2 separate regions of the Homo sapiens genome follow, and region 2 is linked to region 1. Evidence: promoter capture Hi-C in human tissues and cell types (Jung and others, 2019). All regions are on one chromosome and are shown on one strand. The core of a region is centred on a gene start or on the middle of the fragment in contact, and the rest is flanking DNA. Distances in the headings are between cores, read along the strand shown.

The links. Contacts are between HindIII fragments. The study calls those that stand out against the background at their distance.
Region 2: a contact is called between a fragment that was not itself captured here and the fragment with the promoter of ZNF282 in region 1, in 1 of the 25 tissues and cell types used here (aorta).

Annotation. Positions count from the first base shown.
Region 1 is chr7:149,193,125-149,198,768 of GRCh38, forward strand. It overlaps ZNF282 (zinc finger protein 282), which reads left to right and starts at 2,422. Exons shown (of 8, transcript NM_003575.4): 1 at 2,422-2,630; 2 at 5,209-5,628. The coding sequence starts at 2,466. RefSeq lists silencers at 2,090-2,379, 2,198-2,519, 2,640-2,999 and an enhancer at 3,440-3,489. The HindIII fragment of the contact is 19,438 bases long and covers 1-5,108 here.
Region 2 is chr7:148,700,005-148,702,874 of GRCh38, forward strand. The region is part of intron 1 of CUL1 (cullin 1); the gene reads left to right. Among named protein-coding and RNA genes, the nearest start is that of CUL1, 2.5 kb to the left of the region's middle. The HindIII fragment of the contact is 3,491 bases long and covers 1-2,870 here.

The DNA of each region.
Region 1 (5,644 bases), core at 1,172-3,671:
TCCTCTAATAAAAGTGGACGTGATGTTTACAATCAGGGCCAGGAAGCAGGGAAGGAAATCACTGACTTCTGGGAGCATGGACTTTACTGGCCTATAAGCTCCTTGAGGATAATCTTAAGTCTGTGAATACTCATTTCTGTATCCTAGAAGTGTGCCTAGCAGAGAAAGTACTTGGTAACTGTTCTTCTGAATATGGCCTTCTAAGCACATGTCTCACGTAGGCCAATAATGTCCTTTATTTTATGAAGTGCAGTGGAACTTAAAGGTACTAGCAGGTCTGCTTCCACACAAGGTGATGAGCCTCAGAGATCTCTTCCTTAACAAGACAGGGACTGGTCCTTTAGGAAAACAAAGTAAATACTATTTTGAGAATAATTACAAAAACACCTTTTGGGGGTAACTATCTTTGCAGAATGCTCGCTATGTGCCAGGCACAATTCTCATTTAATTTTACAACATTAAAATAGAGTTGCCATTATTTTCTTCATTTATATATGAAGAGAATGAGGCTCAGAGAAGTTAAATAAGTTGCTCAAAGTCATAGCTAGTGAGTGGTGATTTTGGGATTTAAACTCAGGTGTATGCAACTGCAAAGCTCACCCTCTTCCTAAACAGTACCTGGCACACAGTAGGTGTTCAATAAATACATTTGGAATGACTGAATTTTCCCCTCCTCCATCTTCATCAGCTTATACTGGCCTCTCCCTGGCTCCTCCTCTGACCTGGCCTGATGTTTCAAAGTGACACTGACCTGCCTTTAAAGGGTTTTATTTGTAGAGAAGGGATCTCGCTGTGTCACCCAGGCTGGTCTTGAACTCCTGGCCTCAGCCTTGGCCTCCAAAGTGTTGGGATTACAGGTGTGAGCCACCATGACTGCCCGATTTAAAGGTTTATTTATTTATTTATTTGACACAGGATCTTTGCTATGCCGCCCAAGCTGGAGCACAACGGCACAATCACAGCTCACTGCAACCTCCAACTCCTGAGTTCAAGCAATCCTACAGCCTTAGCCTCCTGAGTAACTAGGAGTACAGGCATTAGCCATCATGCCCGGGTAATTTTTATTTTTTATTTTATTATTATTATTATTATTTTTTTTTGAGACGGAGTCTTGCTCTGTTGCCCAGGCTAGAGTGCAGTGGCGCGATCTCGGCTCACTGCAAGCTCCGCCTCCCGGGTTCACGCCATTCTCCTGCCTCAGCCTCCCGAGTAGCTGGGACTACAGGCGCCGCCACCACACCCGGCTAATTTTTTTGTATTTTTAGTAGAGACGGGGTTTCACCGTGTTAGCCAGGATGGTCTCGATCTCCTGACCTCGTGATCCGCCCGTCTTGGCCTCCCAAAGTGCTGGGATTACAGGCGTGAGCCACGGCGCCCGGCCTTATTATTATTTTTTGAGATGGAGTCTCGCTCTGTTGCCCAGGCTGGAGCGCACTGGCGCGATCTTGGCTCACTGCAACCTCCGCTTCGGAGGTTGAAGCGATTCTCCTGCCTCAGCCTCCCGAGTAGCTAGGATTATAGGCCCACGCCACCACGCCCGGCTAATCTTTTTGTATTTTTAGTAGAGACGGGGTTTCACCATGTTGGCCAGGCTGGTCTCGAACTCCTGACCTCAGGTGATCCGCCTGCCTCAGCCTCCCAATGTGCTGGGATTACAGATGTGAGCCACCGCGCTCGGCTAATTTTTATTTTTTATAGGGATGGGGTGTCAATATGTTGCTCAGTCTGGTCTCGAACTCCTGGGCTCAAGTCGTTCTCCTGCTTCAGCCTCTCAGAGTGCTGAGATTACAGGTGTGAGGCACCACGCCCAACCCAATTTCAAGGTGTTTGAAGAGGCCACTGTTAAAATGCACTGCACCTTACCTGGGAGAAAGAGCTCAGCCCTCTTTTGACACCTTAACATGAATCACTTCTCTATCATCCATAACAGTGCAAAAGCTCTGGGATGGGTCCAGGTAAATCTGGATTGGGAAGAAGGGGAGTGGGAGGTAAAGTCTGCAAAGGAGTGAGGGAAGGCAGAAGGCCAGAAGAAAGTGTCTGAAGACAGAATTACTCCTGCAAAATTTTCACAAGGGTCAGGCACTATTTTCTCCCGGGATGCCCAATACATTTGCAGAATTAACAGTAATCAAGCCCACAGTCCAGGTCCTCGCATAGTTTGGGCCTTTAAAGTCGGCCATCCCAGATTGAGGGGGCCTGACCCCTGGGCGAGGCCGCCGCCTCTCAGTTTTGGGGCGGTGGCGACCCCAGTCCGGGAGTGGCCCCGGTAGGTCCCCGCAGGCGGGCAGGAGCTCCGAGGCCATTGGCTGGCGCGCGGGCTGCCAAGGGGCGGGGAGCGCCGCCGAAGGGGACTGTTTGCTCCTACGGGCTGTAGATGGAGCTGTCCGGCCCCGGAGAGGGGGAAGGCGCCTGGAAAACGTTCTTCTTCTCCCTGGCCGACCCGAGCGGGGAACAGCACTCCCAGGATGCAGTTTGTGTCAACACGGCCGCAGCCTCAGCAGCTGGGCATCCAGGGCCTGGGGCTGGACAGCGGGAGCTGGAGCTGGGCCCAGGCTCTGCCCCCGGAGGAGGTCTGCCACCAGGAGCCGGCGCTGCGCGGGGAAATGGCCGAGGGAATGCCGCCCATGCAGGTGGGAGAACCCCGCCGGCGCCATGGCCGCGCTGCCGTGGGGGCGGGGCGCGGGCTGGGCCGCGGGACCGGGCCGCGCCGTCCTCCGGTAGCCTTGCGGCGCCCTCCCAGCTTCCGCGCCCAGGCGAGGCCCGAGGCGGGCGGGGCACGGCCGGGCTGCGCGGCGGGCAGGACGGAGCGGGCCCGACGCAGGCCCGGAAGGGCAGGCCTGGCCCGCGCGGCGCGGAGCAGCGGTCGCCGGGCCCAAGTGCGGAGGCCCCGCGGGGCGGGGGCCGGGACCGTCCTTTCCGGGACCTGGCAGAGCTCTGACCCTGTGGCTGAGCCCCGGCTTGGGGCTCCCTTTGCGCCCGGCCGGCGGAGAGCTTCGCGGGCAGTGCTTCCGCCCGGCCGCAGAAGTGAATGCCTCGTTCGTGTTTACACGGTGGCCAATTTGACGGGGATATTTTTTAAATGTTTGATTACCACCTTTCACCAAGTGTAATGAGTAATTCACTCTCCCCCTGCACCGGGTGTGATCCAGGGAGGGGGCCATGGAGAGATGACTTCGGGGTCTTTCCTGCGGTTGACAAACTTGGCCGCATGTTGGAATGGCCTGGGCAGCTTTTAAGACTCCTGAGCCCTTGCCTGGTCCCAGAGCTCAGGGTCTCTGACGGGTGAGAGTAGCACCAGGCATTTCTTCAGGCTCCATCGATGATCTCCGTGGGCAGAACCGGTGCTCCAGAATTGGGTATAAAACCAGGGGAGGTGGATCCTCAGAGAGGCCTGAAAGCTTGCCCAGGGAAGACTCTCTGGGCCCACCCTGGGGCTGGGCTGCTCAGGGGCCCCTCTGCTCACCACGCGGCTCTCAGCCAGGTGCTAACGAGGGAGCCAGGGGCTGCTGTGTTGTGTTTGATCATTTTCAGGGTTAGGGCTTCAAACCCGAGAAAACTAAACTGGGCCCCGGGACTTTCTTAACTTCTACTGTGGACTCTGTCCCCTTCTGTGGGCTAGGGCGGAGTGGAGCCTCTGTGATGGAGGAATGGGTGCTTTTGATGGAAACACCAGCACCTCTTACTGGTATTACAGGGCCTGGCGATCCTAGGGCCCTGCTCTCCACTCTGCTGTGTCCCGGAGCAGGTCTGCCCCGGAGCAGGGCTGCTCTTGAGTCAGAGAGTGGGGCTGGTCTGCCCAGATCGCCCCAAGCAGCAGGCCTCCCCTTTTCCTAGCCTGAGGGCCTTTTCTGCAGCCATCGGGAGGACAGAAAATGACACCTCTTCCTGTCCCAGGTGTGAAGGAGAGTCGGCTGCCAGCCCATGTGGTCCAGTGAGCCCTGAGTCTGACACCAGGTCCCAGATGACCAGTGAACTGTCACCAGCCTCAACCAGCCCCCCTTAGCCATAGGTCTCAGCTCTCAATTGCACCAATTAGTTTACCCTTCTGGGGTGAGGGCTCTGTGCTGGAAGATAAAAGGGGGAGTCCCCAGGCCATGGGGCACCCCTTCCCCAGGAAGCAAGGAGGGGTCCCAGAGGAGTTTTTCTTTCTCTTGGTCCTCTTGGGTGTGAGGGACATCCCCTCTTCACCTCTAATGAGTGACCTTTTTTAGTGAACCTATTTTCAATTTGGAAAATGTTTATGAAACAGTAGTTGTATATGGGGGGAAGCTGCTTTTCTGCCCTAGCTTGGGCTCTCCGGTCTTTTCCTTGACTGCAGCCCTGGTAGGAATGTGGTGGGTTTTTTTGTTGTTTATTTGTTTGTTCCGAGACGGAGTCTTGCTCTGTTGCCCAGGCTGGAGTGCAGTGGCACCATCTCGGCTCACTGCAACCTCCGCTTCCCAGGTTCAAGCGATTCTCCTGCCTCAGCCTCCCAAGTAGCTGGGATTACAGGAGCCCACCACCACACCCGGCTAATTTTTGTGTTTTTAGTAGAGACAGGGTTTCGCCATGTTGGCCAGGCTGGTCTTGAACTCCTGACCTCAAGTGAGCTGCCTGCCTTGGCCTCCCAAAGTGCTGGGAAGGTGTGAGCCACTGCACCTGGCCAGGAATGTGTTTTTTGTTACCTGCAGCATCTAGAGCTGCCCCAGCTGGCAGTGCAGGGAGGCGCTGCGGAGTGACCAGCTGCCTCCCTGTGCTTCAGTTTCATCATCTTTAAGGCAGAGATCATCATTCTTGCCCTAACCTGCTGAGAGATTGCTGGGAAGATTAGCGTCAGCTAACTTACATCAAAGTTCTTGGAAACATAAAACACTAGGCAAATACAAAGTTCGTCATTAAGGCTAGCCCTTGAAGAAATCAGTTGGTCTATTCAAAGAAAGTGGCCTGTGACATTTTAGGCAGGGGTTGCAGCCTTAACTTGCTAAGGGTCAATGTGGGTGAACCAGTGACCAGCCTGACTCACCTAGGCAGGAGATGGGAGAGTGTTGAGTTGGGTGGGTGGGTGAGTGGGTAGCTGTTGCTGGGGGTGTTAGTGTATCCTGAGTTACGGGGGCCTGGCAGAAGAAAGACGACATGTAGCATCTGATTAGTTGACCCCTGTTCCCAGCTGACTTCCCCGGCTCACACAAGGTCTCATCCTGGGTTGTCGCTTTCTCCCTCTGCATACAGGCTCAAGAATGGGACATGGACGCCCGGCGGCCAATGCCTTTTCAGTTCCCACCCTTTCCAGATAGGGCACCTGTCTTCCCCGACCGCATGATGCGAGAGCCCCAGTTGCCCACAGCAGAGATCTCACTCTGGACTGTGGTGGCTGCCATTCAGGCTGTGGAGAGGAAGGTGGATGCCCAGGCCAGCCAGCTGCTGAACCTGGAGGGGCGCACGGGGACAGCCGAGAAGAAGCTGGCCGACTGTGAAAAGACGGCCGTGGAATTTGGGAACCACATGGAGAGCAAGTGGGCCGTGCTGGGGACCCTGCTGCAGGAGTACGGGCTGCTGCAGAGGCGGCTGGAGAACTTGGAGAACTTGCTGCGCAACAGGAACTTCTGGGTCCTGCGGCTGCCCCCGGGCAGCAAGGGGGAGGCCCCCAAGGTATGTGGTGGTCCCT
Region 2 (2,870 bases), core at 118-2,617, 490 kb before region 1:
GTAGACATTCCTTGAAATGAATCCCCAAAGTTAGGGTTTTCTCCCTGGCTGGCTTTGCCAAAAAGAGGATTCTCTTTTCCGATTGGGTCACTCTTGGTTGCTTCTGGTTCGTAGTAGGGGTTAGTGGTAAGTGCGCAAATACTGAATTGCAGTCTACTTAAATATTTGTTTGCTCTGTGTAATTGCTCTTTCCTGTAGTAGCATTAAAATCGTCAAAAGTTCTGAGTGGAGTAAACGATCACACTTTTTGGAATGCACTTAACGAAGCGGCAGAAGAGGAACTAGATTCCTTTTTTACTTCAAGCCATGAGCTTCTAGGACCTAAGCATAGCTTAACGCCTCGCAGAAGTGTGTGCAGTTTTAAGTTTAACACTTCATTTCATGGTGCACCCGAAAATGTACCCGATTTTCTGAAATCCTGGAGAGTGTATTACGTAGTAAAATATGTAATGATGTTTAAAATGTAAAACCAGTCATTCTGTTTGAAAAAGATATTTGGAGATGAGATTTTTCTTTGTTTAAAGAAGGTTTGTTTTTGGATATTGAAAAATGTTTTACTTGAAGGTTCTATTTGTTGTTTTCCATGGTGAGTCGAAATAGTTGCGTTACATTTCAAATTCCAAAGCATGCAAACACAAGACTGGCTCGCTTTAACTCTATTAATGCCCATTTTTGGAGGTTTCAGGAGAGTGTTCCTTAAGCTTGAGAGGGATGGCTGAATTGCTTTCTAAATATGTTAAACTTTTTTTCTCATTGGCTTCATCTTTTAAAAACGATTTTGTCAAAAAACAAACCAAATTTAGATATGCTAGGGTTTTTCACCAATTTATAAAAGCCTCCCTCCCTGAGAGCCACATGCTCAGGTCCTTATAGCCAGCCCCACCCCCCACTCCTAATGTGTGTACCACATCAGAAGACAGACACGCATGCCTGAGCTGATTCTGCATGGTTTCCTTAGATATTACAGTTCATTAGACTCTTGCCACTTACTGAATATTATCTTCTAGCTGTAATTAACTACATGACAGCCTTATTTCCCATACATTTCCGATTGTGAATTCCTCCAGCGCAGGAGATATTCCTTATTTGTTTTTGCGTCCCCAGAGTAACAGAACTTGGTTGTGGTGGTGCCTCAGTTGCTTTTTTTTAATGAATGAGTTTTCTGGAATAATTCTAACTTAAACTTAACGTTTGAAAACATGCGCTGATTTTTGGCTACAGAAAACACAGTCGTTGTGCTTAAGCCGGTTAAGAATTCAAGCTTTATTATACACTTCTCGAGTAAAATTGATCGTCTCTCTCATCCCTCCTTTTCTATTCCCCCTTCCCTCTTCACTTCCCTTCTCCCTGAAACACCCCAGTATCTAGTACAGGGCCCTAACAGAAAAATGCCCAGGTTTTCTATACCTATGGAAGTCTGGGAAAGTGCCAAGAAAACAGGTTGTGAAACTTTAACTTTTTTCCCCCTTAAAACTAGTTTTAAGGTGTGGATGTTTTTACTTTTTGTGTTTGGTGTTTTTTTGGAAACACGATCAGGTTTTTCCCCCCAGGTTGAGTATCCAGCCTTGCCTTTGCAATGAAGCAGTTTGGTAGTTAAGGCTCCTCCTTGTAGATGAGGCAAGCCCCATGGTTCTGCTGGAGTGGGATAGGAAGTTGCTGTAGGAGGAACCATCCCTTGGTCTCTGAGGGCCATTCATCAGAATGTCATTCCCAGTATACCCAGTGGTGTCTGTCTTTCAGCATGGAAAATTAAAATGAATGTACTTTAAATTGAGGAGTTGTTACTTGCCATTCTTCAAATTAAAAATATTAGGGCCTTAAAAACTTAGGAACTTGGTTTTTTGTTTGTTTTGCTGTTTCAGCCTTCCGTAGGTCCTAAAGCCAGTGACCTTGAGTCATTCTGGAATAAAATGTCTTTGGGGGACTGTCAGCTTCATTTTGAACTTGTCTTTTAGGTATGTCTGGAGAAAAGAGTGTTAACCATTTTAAGGGCCAATTCTAAGGTTGCCTTGCTTTTTAAAAACATTTGGTAGTTTATCAGTGTGTTTGTTTTGCTTCCAAATGAAGAAATGAGCATTAAATGAAAAATAGATCCTATTTGGATAAAAGCCTTATGTTTACTACTGAGGACATAATTTCCTGTTTATAGGAGGTTTCCTGTTTATAATATGAAGATTTAGTAAACACACTATAAACAGAATTATTATAACATTTAATGACTTAAGTTTTTTATTCACTCATGGAGGTGTTTCATTTCTAAAAATTCCGTGAGGGAGAGAGATTGAAGTCATTTATTTTTGCTTAGGTATAGAACATCTTGCTTGGGAGAGAAGACATGGAGTCTAGTTCAAGCTTACCTTTGCAGGGCATATATTTCCTCGTTTTTAAAATGAGATGGTTTTTAATTGACACTGTTGATTTCCTTAGGCCCCGAAAGTATGTGGATTCCATGGGAATGCCACAGCTTTTAACATTAACAGGATTTTGGAAAAACGGTCTTAAAGAACATTAAGTATTGTATTCATGTTTAAAAAGCAGGGTTGTGAAGCCTAAGTTTGATAGTTAAATTTTTTCCCTTGGGAAACTTGGACCAAGTAAGCACTGGTCTGCCTTTCCTAGTGTTGACTCCATGCTTCAGCGCTATTGCAGTTCCATTCTGGATCTGACTCTTTGCCTTTTCTATCACCTGACGGCTCACACATCACCATCTCTGGAAAGCTGGCCCTGATGTCCTGGTCTGGGTTAGGAGCCTTCTCTGGGTTCCCATGTTGTCCTGCCTATGTCACTATCACAGTATTTAACCTTTTGATTGTAGTTGGTGGTTTCTCCCACCAAACTGACCTCCTTTGGGACAGGGACACTGTGATATG